Linked DNA regions of Homo sapiens: all the other regions are linked to region 3. Evidence: promoter capture Hi-C in 16 types of primary human blood cells and fetal thymus (Javierre and others, 2016). All regions are on one chromosome and are shown on one strand. The core of a region is centred on a gene start or on the middle of the fragment in contact, and the rest is flanking DNA. Distances in the headings are between cores, read along the strand shown. Region 1 overlaps STRIP1 (striatin interacting protein 1). Region 2 overlaps SYPL2 (synaptophysin like 2). Region 3 holds the start of EPS8L3 (EPS8 signaling adaptor L3).

The links. The method cuts DNA at HindIII sites, captures the fragments that hold promoters and counts their contacts. A CHiCAGO score of 5 or more calls a contact.
Region 1: a fragment that was not itself captured here is called in contact with the fragment with the promoter of EPS8L3 in region 3 in 2 of 17 cell types (M0 macrophages and M1 macrophages); the score reaches 5.4 in M0 macrophages.
Region 2: a contact is called between a fragment that was not itself captured here and the fragment with the promoter of EPS8L3 in region 3, in 1 of 17 cell types (M2 macrophages). The highest score is 6.7, in M2 macrophages.

What each region holds. Positions count from the first base shown.
Region 1 is chr1:110,053,616-110,057,666 of GRCh38, forward strand. STRIP1 (striatin interacting protein 1) reads left to right here. Exons shown (of 21, transcript NM_033088.4): 21 at 50-1,026. The coding sequence ends at 297. Among named protein-coding and RNA genes, the nearest start is that of ALX3, 15 kb to the right of the region's middle. The HindIII fragment of the contact is 2,143 bases long and covers 880-3,022 here.
Region 2 is chr1:109,468,080-109,472,295 of GRCh38, forward strand. All of the region lies in intron 2 of SYPL2 (synaptophysin like 2), which reads left to right. Among named protein-coding and RNA genes, the nearest start is that of SYPL2, 3.6 kb to the left of the region's middle. The HindIII fragment of the contact is 2,812 bases long and covers 1,162-3,973 here.
Region 3 is chr1:109,761,554-109,765,444 of GRCh38, forward strand. EPS8L3 (EPS8 signaling adaptor L3) reads right to left here and starts at 2,370. Exons shown (of 19, transcript NM_133181.4): 1 at 2,269-2,370; 2 at 166-220; 3 at 1-6. The coding sequence starts at 196. All of the region lies in intron 1 of LOC124904258 (a long non-coding RNA gene), which reads left to right. The HindIII fragment of the contact is 2,750 bases long and covers 1,271-3,891 here.

The DNA.
Region 1 (4,051 bases), core at 701-3,200, 290 kb after region 3:
CTGCTACAGGGCATGGCTCCTAACGGTGTTTCTTCCTGCTTTGTCTCAGATCTTGATGCCCGGCCTTGGGACTTCCAGGCAGAGGAGTGTGCCCTTCGTGCCAACATTGAACGCTTCAACGCCCGGCGCTATGACCGGGCCCACAGCAACCCTGACTTCCTGCCAGTGGACAACTGCCTGCAGAGTGTCCTGGGCCAACGGGTGGACCTCCCTGAGGACTTTCAGATGAACTATGACCTCTGGTTAGAAAGGGAGGTCTTCTCCAAGCCCATTTCCTGGGAAGAGCTGCTGCAGTGAGGCTGTTGGTTAGGGGACTGAAATGGAGAGAAAAGATGATCTGAAGGTACCTGTGGGACTGTCCTAGTTCATTGCTGCAGTGCTCCCATCCCCCACCAGGTGGCAGCACAGCCCCACTGTGTCTTCCGCAGTCTGTCCTGGGCTTGGGTGAGCCCAGCTTGACCTCCCCTTGGTTCCCAGGGTCCTGCTCCGAAGCAGTCATCTCTGCCTGAGATCCATTCTTCCTTTACTTCCCCCACCCTCCTCTCTTGGATATGGTTGGTTTTGGCTCATTTCACAATCAGCCCAAGGCTGGGAAAGCTGGAATGGGATGGGAACCCCTCCGCCGTGCATCTGAATTTCAGGGGTCATGCTGATGCCTCTCGAGACATACAAATCCTTGCTTTGTCAGCTTGCAAAGGAGGAGAGTTTAGGATTAGGGCCAGGGCCAGAAAGTCGGTATCTTGGTTGTGCTCTGGGGTGGGGGTGGGGTGTTTCTGATGTTATTCCAGCCTCCTGCTACATTATATCCAGAAGTAATTGCGGAGGCTCCTTCAGCTGCCTCAGCACTTTGATTTTGGACAGGGACAAGGTAGGAAGAGAAGCTTCCCTTAACCAGAGGGGCCATTTTTCCTTTTGGCTTTCGAGGGCCTGTAAATATCTATATATAATTCTGTGTGTATTCTGTGTCATGTTGGGGTTTTTAATGTGATTGTGTATTCTGTTTACATTAAAAAGAAGCAAAAATAATTCCCGTTGGCTTGTCTACAGGAAATATGGCCTCTACGTATCTCCTCCAGGTCTAGAAAGTGGTTTTTTCTGCTAGCATTGCTGGTCAACGCTTGTCCTTGTCAAGCTGCCTGCCTTTCCCATCCTGGGGGAAGAGGAGAGAGAGTTGGCATTTATCCAGTGTAAGTTAACCCCACAGTAATCTGGGATTGCTCTAGCCCAACTCCAGGGCACTAGGTTACTTTACTGACACATTGTCCTGCACCCCTGGGTTTGCTGTAATTTCAGTAGGAGCCCCAGGTTTCTCTGGATCACATCACTGAGCTGGCCTCAGCCAAACCAGTGTCAGTGCTATGGAGGGAGGGGCTAGGTCAAAGCAAGGGGGTCTGCTGCTCTAGGTCCTCCCTGGGGCAGGTGGTTGGGACTGAGGGGAAACTTCAGTACTCAGAGCCTAGGAAGCAGACCATCAGGAGTCAGGTTCACGGTGGGAAAAAGTGTTGGAGGGCCCAGGAGCCCCCTGTGGCTGAGAGAAAAGCAAGGAAAATCTTTGTAGTAGGTGTCAGTGGACACCTGGCGCCTCCACTTTGGCCTCCAGACCCCTGGTTTCATCTGCCTGAGAAGATATTAGTGTTTTGATGCTGGTGAAAGGAGTGTTTCCTTTTTAGAATTCCTGGAAGCTCTTATTTTACCTGTAGGCAGTTGTTTTGTAGGTTGTTAAATCTCCAAGGGGTCTTGACTTGTAAAGGAAACATGTTCTGGGGAGCATCTCCCCTTCTTTGGGTCTTGTGTTCATGCCTGCCTGGCCTGGGACCTGCTGAGCCTCAGGACAGGCCTTTTGATGTGCCAGCATGGTTAGGGACAGCAGGGGTGGAAGGCAGCAGTGTACTCCTGATGGTCACACAGCTGTGAGATGGGAAGTCCCATCTGTGACTGATGGGCCCTGTGCCCCAAAGTAACTTGTACAGGACAAGGGAATTGACACAATTTATGTGTGGATGATGGATTTTCTGCTATTTCTTTCCAGGACTGACAGGAAATATGTATCTTGAGATTTCAATTAGGGAGAGATGGATTTTTCACATTCTTACTCTCCCATGAAGCCTGAGTCACTGAAACTGCGTGGTCGAGGCCTGTCTCTCCTCTGACCTGCAAAAGAGAATGCAGGACTATCAAAGCTGCAAGGGCCATAAAGCCTGGGCAGGCAAATCCTTTCAGCTGTAGGCCCAGGAGCCAGCCTGGGGAGAGGAAGGGGCTTCTCACAGCCACAGAGTGTATTAGTGGCAGGTTGGCCATTTGAACTCAGGTCTTTGTACAGAAATGTCTTTTGGAGCCACACAGTTTTTGTGGCTTTTTAAATCTCATATGGGTCATGAAATGGGCAGAGTACATGAAGACCCTTTGTACTTTGATTGAGTTACATAAAATGTTGTTTATTGCTAAGCAGGGTCAGGGTCCACTGCTCCTTCAATCCACCGAGGGACAGATTACCCTGAGGCAGTATCACTCTAAGGATGGGAGCTGTCCCTTGTTAATCGTAAGAGTTACCACTTATGGGTTGCCAAGTAGGTACCAGGCACAATATTAGATGCTTCTCAAAGCCTTATTTTCTACAAAGCCAGCAAATGCTGAGTACTTACAATGTGCCAGCCAGCGTTCTAACCACTTGATGTATAATATCTTACATATTCCTTGTGATATCCTGAAAGATACATGCCATTTTAATCCCTATTTTGCACAGGAGAAAACTGTGGCACAGAAAGGATAAAGAACTTGCCCAAGGTCATATAAAGGCAAGAGCCAGGATTCAAATCCAGGCCTCTGTCTCAGCGCACGCATTTTTTTCACTCCCTCACACCCTTTGCTATTAGTCATTGTCATACCCCAGCACTTACCACCAGTGCCTTCATTTGCTCATTTATTCACCACAGCCAACACTTCACATTTGCTCTAGCATCGTCCCCGGCATGAAAGATTCATGGTAAATGTCCATTGCTTTAGGTCCTAACTGGACCACCTAAGCTTAGCCTTAGCCTAGCCTCTGATGTTCCCTGAATATGCCCTCCTCAGGGTAACTTGGCTGTTGCTGCCGTCTTTTTTTCTTTTCAGCCTGAGCCTAAATTTTTTTCTCTTCTGGGTCCCAGAGGACTCTTGTGTTGGCTGCCCCTTCTATACCTGTTAGGCTCATTTCCCAGGAGGCTGGCTTCCGTCTGTCCTCAAAGAGCTGACTTCTCAGAGGAGAATAGTTGTTACATTCATTTGGCACTTGGCACAGTCAGCCTCAGGCTGCTGGCTATAAAACAAGGGAGGAGCACCCTTTGGGAGTGAGACAGCCCTGACTTTCAATTCGGGCTCTGACATTTACTCACTGAGGGACCTTGAGCTAGTCAATTTCCAAGGCTCAGTTGACTCATCTGTAAAAATTGGTTTAATAATAGCCGTATTGCATGGGCTGAGTAAGATTGTGGAAATGAACCTACATGTCTGGCTGACAAGGGATGACAATAAATGGTAGCAGTTCTTAGTCTTGGCAATGGCCCCTCAAACTCTAATGTTCTATGAATTTGTACCCATTTCCTATGTCCCCTAGAAGACAGAAATCCCTTTCAAGGACCAGAACCATGTCTTAGGCCTCCTTAAAGCCCCTGGACCTAGCTGGCTGCTGTGAATCCAGAGGCATCTCAGAAGAGTCAGCTACTCGTCCAGCAACCTGCCATCACACCTTGAAGGCCTGTTGGGGCCAGGCCCTGTGGTAGATGCCCTGGATATCCAGGTTACTAGGATACCACACTCTCTCACTTCTCTCGAGCTCGCAGTTGATGGAGACACAGCCATAAGAGCAAGTAAAAGCAATAGCATGATAGGTAACAGACGTCTGAAGGGCTTACCACAGGTCCCACTGGTCCCAGCCTCTTAGTATTGGAGGAGAGATTGCTGGGGGAGCCAGCAGTCGCTAAGTGGGAAGGAAGGGGGCTCCAGCATCAGAATCAAGGGCTCTGACAGCTGACGCTTGATGCTCACCACCTTCCAGGTGAAATGCCTGGGATGA
Region 2 (4,216 bases), core at 1,318-3,817, 290 kb before region 3:
GCCTAAGGCCTCCTGGGTATAAATTAGGAATGTGGACAGGTGCAGTCAATTTCTCAAATCATAAAGACTTGTAGGGGGCATTTAGTGCACTATTGCAGAAGAGATTTTAAATTAGACAATCCACATACCAAATGGTGTGTGAATAACTTAATTAATGTGCTCTCAGTACAGAATTCAGCTAGGGAATAAGTTACCATTAATACTGAGGAGGATTGAGTTCTACAGGGCTTTGGAGACAAGAATTAGCACTGTGACACCAGTTCTTAAATCATGGTTTGGATGAGAATAATCAAATCTGGAACCCAGGGGCAAAAGTGCATTTGGGATTATCGGGCCAGCCTGGGAGCTCCCAAGTGCAAACTCTGGGACCTGGTGGGGACTCTCCACCTTTCTTACTGCCTCAAGAGTGGTTAGACCAATTGCTGATTGAGCTCTTTTGCCTTTGGCCCCTTCCCTGTTCTGATCCACCACTCAAGTGCCAGAGGGAGCCATATAAAAATGATATTAAGGCTCTGAGTGACTGGCATCCAGAACTGGAAGAGCCATTATAAGCAATTTTACCATTAAATTAGACAAATGGATCCAACAGAATTTGAGACAGACTGTCAAAGGATAAGGGAAACAATGAGGTTATTAGACCATGGACTCCTCTCCCTTGGAGGGATTCTGAAAAGCTTCCTTCTTCAATCCTGCCATCCTTCCCTCCACGCAGCACTCCAAATACCCACAACATTTCTGTAAAGGCTGTACAAAGCAATGCCCAGGGAAATGATGCAGTCTTGGGGTCAGCACTAATGACCTAGGAATTAAGATCTGATAGACTTTTATGATCTTCAAGTACTTAGAAAGGGGGTTGTGCAAAACAGAGACCCTTTTCTCTCAGAATGCTAAAACCTGGGCCCTGGGCTAGACTCTGAATTCAGATTTCATTCACAGGGTAGCATCACAAAGAAACGTGCTTTGCTTTTATTGCCATCCCAGGTAGCCTGAATTCAGGGCGCCAGTTTCACTTGCTTTGAAGCTCTGCAGATGAGGTAACATAAAAAGTAAACAGGCATTAGCACCAGAAATGACAGTGGAAATGTCATTTGAGTTTTTCACTCATTTCCTGTTTGGAGGGATCAAATGCTCCTGATTGGAGAAGGAAAAAAGAAAACACAAAGCTTGCAGTTATTGTAATGGTAATTGAGAACTTTTGTTGTCATTATTACCAAAAAGCAAAGATTTTACTGGAATCTTTGTGAAAAGAAAGTAATGTTATTCTTTTATTTGTCAGGAGCTTATCTTAGAGTTTTTTTTTTTTTAATTGAGAAATCAACTAATCTCACCTCAATTCCAATTCTGGAGTCTCACTAAGTCTATACTAAGCTAGCAAAAATAACCTGGACATAGACCAATTATTGGAGAACTAGTTTTTTTTTAAAAAAGAAAAGGACATCAAATCATAGGAGTTCAAGATAAAAAAGAAAAGAAAAGAAGTATCTTAAAAAAAATTTTCTTTTTAAGAAAAAGACACACTTTGGGAGGCTGAGGTGGGAGGATTGCTTGAGCCCAGGAGTTTGACACAAGCCTGGGCAATAAGGGGAGGTCGCGTCTCTATTAAAAAATAAAATTAGTTGGGTGTGATGACACATGCTTGTGGTCCCAGCTCCTTGGGAGGCTGAGGCTGGAGGATCATTGAGCCCAGGAGGTCGAGGCTGCAATGAGCTGCGCACTCCAGCCTGAGTGACAGAACTAGACCTTGTCTCAAAAAAAAAAAAAAAAAAAAAAAAAGGAAAATAAAACAAAAGAAAAAGGAAGATAGAGACAGATTTTTGAGGTCAGATAGGCTTCGGTTTAAATTGAGTCCCCTCTGCTTTCTTGCTTTCTAGCTCTGGAACCTTGAGTGAGTAAATATCAAATCTTTTTTTTTTTTCAGACAGGCTCTAAGATAGAGACTGGCTCTATCGCTGAGGCTGGAGTGCAGTGGTACGAACACATCTCACTGCAGCCTAAATTTCCAAGCTCAGGCAATCCTCCCACCTCAGCCTTTCAAGTATCTGGGACCAAAGGCACATGCCACCATGCCTAGCTAAGTTGTAAAAAATTTTTGTAAAAATCGGGTCTTGCTATGCTGCCCCAGCTGGCTTTGAGTTCCTGGGCTCAGGTGATATTCCCACCTCAGCCTCCAAAAGTGCTGAGATTACAGGCATGAGCCTGTTACCTCGCCTAAACAAAACAAAAAACAATGAGATAAGCGTGGGAGTAGGACCTGGGGAGAGAATTTGTCTTCCTTGTGCTCTGAGCTAACTGGTGATGTTAGTGTCCTCAGGACTGTCACAGGATTATCACCAGCGAGCATGTCAGTGCCAAAGGGGAGCCTCATCCTTAAACTGGAAAGGTTTAAGGTTGCAAAAGAGATGCAGAAGCAAGAGGAGGCGGAGGGCAGAAAATGACCGTCGCTGTCCCAGCAATGGAGGTCCAAGAGGAGAAAGGCTGGTTGGCACCAGAATGCTAGAACTCCCCCTTGTCTCAGGTCCTCTACCTCTCCTTGGCTGCTCTTTATAACCAGTTTGCTCATCTCAGAGCCTTGTGCTTGGTGACAGGGGTGATTTTAGTTCTTTCCTTCTCTTCTCTGTGTCTCAGTCACTTGGCAAAGTTAGGGAAGAAAGCAAATCTGGAGTGGAAAGATGGAGGGTTAGGAGACATGGAGGGGGTTGGGAGAAAGTGTCTTTCTGAGCTTCTGCACCCCAAGGCACAGAGCTACTCCTTCCCTCCTTGTAATCCTCAATGCACATGGTAGAGATCTCTTCTTTAGCCTCAATAACTCTGGGATGCAGTGTTTGTTTTTATTATTTTTTGTTTGTTTGTTTTGCTATGACGCTCCTTTCTTGATGTGAATTCTCAAGAGCAGGAGATAGGTGTTATTCGTCTTCATATCTCCAGCACCTGGCACAAGGTAGATGCTCAATCAGTGTTGAGTTAATGAGCAAATGAAATGGAAAGAGCACTGGACAGGGAATCAGGAGATGTGAATTCTAAGCCTGGCTCTCACATTAACTAAATGTGACTTTGGGAAAGTGACTTAATCTTTTGGGGCTTCACAGTCCCCCTCTGTGACATGAGATGATTGGGTGTGAGAATCTTTGAGGTCCCTTTTGTTCTGCTGTTCTGTGAACCTGTGATTCCCCTCAGATGTTCTCATTTTGCTCTGGTACCATCCGACTGTATAGTGTTCAGATTTAAACATATATTTTGGTAAATAAAAAATCATCGTGTAAGATCCCTGACTTGAAAAGAATCAGAATACAATAAATACTAAAGTTATTGTGGGTGTATTTTGCCCTCTGAGGAATCCGAAAGCATGATTCAGGATTGTCAGAACCTCAGGACCGTCGTTTAGACACAGCAGAACTTTTGGTAATAATGGAAAAGTTTTAGAATCGGTGCTCTCTAAGATAGTACCTGCTAGTCACATGAGGCTATTGGGCACTTGAAATGTGCCTAGCGTGACTGAACTGAATTTTTTTTTTTTTAGTAGAGACGGCATTTTGCCATGTTGGCCAGGCTGGTCTCGAACCCCTGACCTCAAGTGATTTGCCCGCCTTGGCCTCCTAAAGTGCTGGGATTACAGGCATGAGCCACCACACCCGGCCTGAACTTTTTTGTTGTTGTTTGATCCAGTCTCACTCTGTCATCCAGGCTGGAGTGCAGTGGCGTGATCATAGCTCATTGCAGCCTTGAACCCCTGGGCTCAAGTGATCCACACACTTCAGCAGCTGGGACTACAGGCATGTACCACCATGCCCGACTACTTTTTTTTTTTGGTAGAGATGGAGTCTTGCTATGATACCCAGGCTGGTCTTGAACTCCTGGCCTCAAGTGATCCTCCCACCTTGCTTCCCAAAGTGTTGGGATTACAGGTCTGAGACACTGCACCCGGCTTGAATTTTTTATTTAATTTAATTCTGATTAACTTAAACTTAAATAATCAAGCTTGGCTAGGGGCTACTGTTTTGGATAGTGCAGCTCTAGAGTATGAGCCCCATGAGGACAGAGATTTTGTTATTCTTTTTCTTTTTTTGAGATAGGGTCTCGCTCTGTCACCCAGGCTGGTGTCCAGTGGTGTGATCATGTAGCTTTGACCTCCTGGGCTCAAGAGATCTTCCCACATCAGCCCCCAGAGTAGCTGGGACCACAGATGTGCATCACCACACCTGGCTAATTTTTCTTGGCT
Region 3 (3,891 bases), core at 1,120-3,619:
GGTGCACTACAAGGGCACAGAGCAAGGGGCGGGAGGTGGGCAGAAGAACGAGGTGAGACTCAGGCAACTGCTGGGGGCAGTTGGTGTGAGGAAGGGGGAGTGGAGGATGGGACATTCTGGGGGCTCAGTGGGAGGGCACGGGAGAGGGGCCTGCCAGGAGCTTACAGTAAATGGCTCTGCTGCTGGGCCTTGACATGTTGACGCTGCTGAGGACGGCTCCCTAGAACCCAAAGTGAACCAGAGGCAGCCATCAGAGCTGGGGAAAGGTGTACCAGGCACAGCAGGGCAGGACAGTTGCTATTGCTCTGACTGGGGGCCTCTGGGACCAGACCCAAAGCCCCTGGCTCCAGGGGCCCTTTCCGGAGCCATCTGCAGCCAGCGTCCTCCACTGAGGAGCCCTCCATCCTGGCTGGGCCTGGAGGCCCCGGGCTGAGGGAAGGGAGGGTCAGGGAGGCCACAGCATGGCTGGGCCTCAGGGAAGGCTCCAGGCCTCCCATGGTTTGGCTGATAAAGCTCATGCCAAGGAGCCCAGGAAACCTGGATGGACAGGGACCTGCGTTCAGATCCTATCTTGGGCCTGGGTATGAAAGATGCTGGATGAGCAGAGGGTTCTGTAGCCGACCCCGCCAGAGGAGGCCCTCTTGTTCGACCCTGTTTCAGTTCTGCAAACTGAGAGGACGCTGATGCTGGCTCTTCAGCTGTAGACCCTCTGGGAAGACTGCATGCATGTGTGTGTGTACTTATGGTGGCACTGCAGGACTCGCCAGTGAGCTGACCTCCCCCAAGTGTCTCCCTAGGCCTCCTGGCTCTTTGCTTTTTGTACTCTGTATCCTCTGCCCAGGTCCCCTCCTGACCCCAACCCTTTAAATTCTAGCTCAAAGATCACCCTCTTGGTGAAGCCCTCCTGGACCATCCAACCCCACCCTGCCCAGGGTACCCTCCTAATGCTGCACTGGACCTTGTACATTTATCTCCAGCAACAATAGTCACAATAGCCACCACGGTGCTGTGAGCCTGGTGCTGAGCCCCTTACCAACATCCTATCAGTTTCTCCTCACTGCCGTCCACTTGTACTTACTTGGCGCCACGTGCCTAGCACTGTTCTAACGGCGTTACCTTCAGTCACTCTAATCCTCAAAACAACCTCACAAGGCAGGTACTGGTATTGTCCCCATTTACCATATGAGGACTCTGAGGCTCAAAGACGGTAACAGGCCTGAGGTCACAAATGAACGTTTAATAGAGAGCAACCCAGATCTGTCCGATTGCAAGCTTCGTGTTTTAATGGTTTATAAACATGCCTCTGCCGCTGGGCTGTGCGCAGTCACAGAGGGAGTCTAGAGAACATACATGTTGAAATGGAGTGGAATTAAATGTGGTGTGTGTGTCCCGGGTGGGGGTGGTGTTAGTCTGTGCGGGTCAAGGGTATGTGTTATCCAAATGAGGTTTGTGGGTATCCACATGTCTACATGGTACACCTCAGTTGTGCAGAAATACTGGACTACCCCGGGTAACATGTGAGAGAGCAACCCATACCCTTGTTTATTAGGACTGTTGTGAAAATGACGTAGGATCTGATAAGATGACTCAGTGTGGAAGGAAATAAACTGCCAGTGAACAATTAAGGGAATGTGGAAGGGACGGCTGGATCTCTGGTTTCCTTGTTTGGGAGGACCCCTTTTCTCTCCAGGGGTAAGGCGGGGCTAGAAGCCTGTTCCCCTTCCCCAGCCTCCCCCAACCCCCATTGTAACACTTCCTGCTTCTCCATGCTCTCCATGCAGAAGAGGAAGTGAGGTCTGCCCCTGGTCAGCCCCACTCCCCACTCCCTCAACACCAGGGTGGGCCCTGTGGGGCCCTCTAGGTAGGTAGGTCAAGGTGGGGAAACAGCTGCAGCCAAAGATTCCCTACCCCAGGGAGGGAAGAGGGAGCTGGCTTGGCCTGCCTTGCCCCTTAGGGGTAGGGGAGCTGTGACAGCCCATTTCCCCCCTTTAAGCCCTAGATGTAGGGGTTTGGAGCAGGGAAGGCCATCACCTCATAGACCCTGGGGCAAGCATCCCAGAGGCCCTTCCGGAGCCTGGACCTCGCTCTGCTTTCCAGCCCACCAGCCAGCTGCTGAGTCCCAAGCCCCTCCTTGGGCTTGATCCCCTGGGCTGCAGCTGGGAACAGGCTGGAGACCTGGCCTGGGAAGCCACTGAGTTGCCCCCACCTGCCCTGAGATCCCCTGTGACTGGGCTGGGCCCCGATCTTCCCTGGGGGCCAGGCCCTTACCTGGGTGCCAGTGAAGGCCGGGTGCCTGGTCCCCCCAGGAGGCTGGTCTTGGAGCAGGTGGTCCGGTGCTGGTGGTGGAAGGACAGCAGCTTCTCTGCTAGTGGCCACAGGCAGAGCCTGCCTTTGATGAGGTTACAGAGGCAGCCACGCCTGTGCTCTTTGGACTCTGGTGGGTGGGGAGGCTTCCTGGTCACTAACCGCTCAACATCAACCTGGACCTGCGGCAGTGTCTGTGCTGACTGGCGTCCCCAGCTTAGCTAGAGGCCCCTGCTTCCCTGTTTCCCCCACTGCTAGCCTTGGGGTGTGGCCCCCTCTTCCCTCTGCCTTTTAGGTGCCTACTCTGGGGAACAGGTCAGCATCAGGCACGGGGCTGGGACCAGAAGAAGAGAGCACACATGGCCCAGAGTCTGGGTTCTGTGGTGAGGGCACAGGTCGGCTGGAGGTGGACTCCAGGCTTGGGGGAAGCTGTGGGCTGGCGTGTGTGCCATGCCTGTGCGTGGGTGGCACCCATAGGTGTGTGATCCTGTGTACCTGGGTGGTGCCTGTGAGCAGGACATGGATCTTGTCACAGAAGATGGGGACTGAGGCCCCTGGGGCATTACATGGAGCGCTGAGATTCCCTCTGGCAGGGCCCTCATTCTGTCCCTACTGTTGTCCCTTCCAGCAGGAGCCCCCTTACCAGCCCTTTCTCGCTCTTCCACTCTCTTTCCTTCTGTACCCCATCTTGTGCCCAGACCCCTGGTGGACGCCTGGCCAGCTTCAGCAAAGATGGAAAACGGAGGCCTGCATCTATCTCTAGTCATAAACCTACCCACTTCCTGCACTCCATGGTATCGAAAAATCTTTCTTGGCACTCAGAGTGGGCCAGGCTCCCCTGCCCTCTGGGAACTCACAGTCTAACCAACAAGGCCAGGTATAAACAGAAACCAGGGAGCAGGGCAGGAGGGGAGGCGGGGGCGGGGGAGTGCCAGTGAGCCTCGGACCCTCGTGGGCAGAATGCAGGGTCCCGGTGCTGGGCCCTGTGATGGAGTGTCCTGTGGAGTCTGAGGGCTGGAGCACTCCCATCTTTAGCTTCCCTGGAACTATCCCAGGATATCTCAGCCTTCTCTCCCATCACCACCCAACCAACGCTGCCCTGGATGGCCTGGAGTCCATGCGTCAGATCCTAGGGAGGTGCCTTCCCTGTCTGGGCTGTGTGTGTCCCTGGGAGAGTCCAGTGGACAGCCAGCTGCTGGGGCCCAGGGATCAGGTGCCTGTGAGGCCAGCACCCAGCCACAGCCCCATGGGAAGCAGTCCTGGGGTTCTTTCCCCTGGGTCCCCATCTTGTGGCCCTTCAGCTTCTTTTGGGATAGCACAGCCTGTCCCCTCGTTGCCTCCCCCAACTCCGTGAAGGCCACAGTCATATTTCACCCCAGCCCTGGCTTGGGGCTCAGGCAACACCTCATTTCTGCCCAGCTCAGGCCAGGCCCGTCCTTCCCATAGGACCCTCCCCAAGTCAGTGTGAGCACAGCAGGGACTCCTGGGGGGGCTCTGGGGCAAGGTGGGCAGGGGCAGAGAAACAATGAGTGGCATTCCCAGCACCTTGCCCTCTGCAGTGCCCTTTAGGGGTGCCCCTGGGAGCAG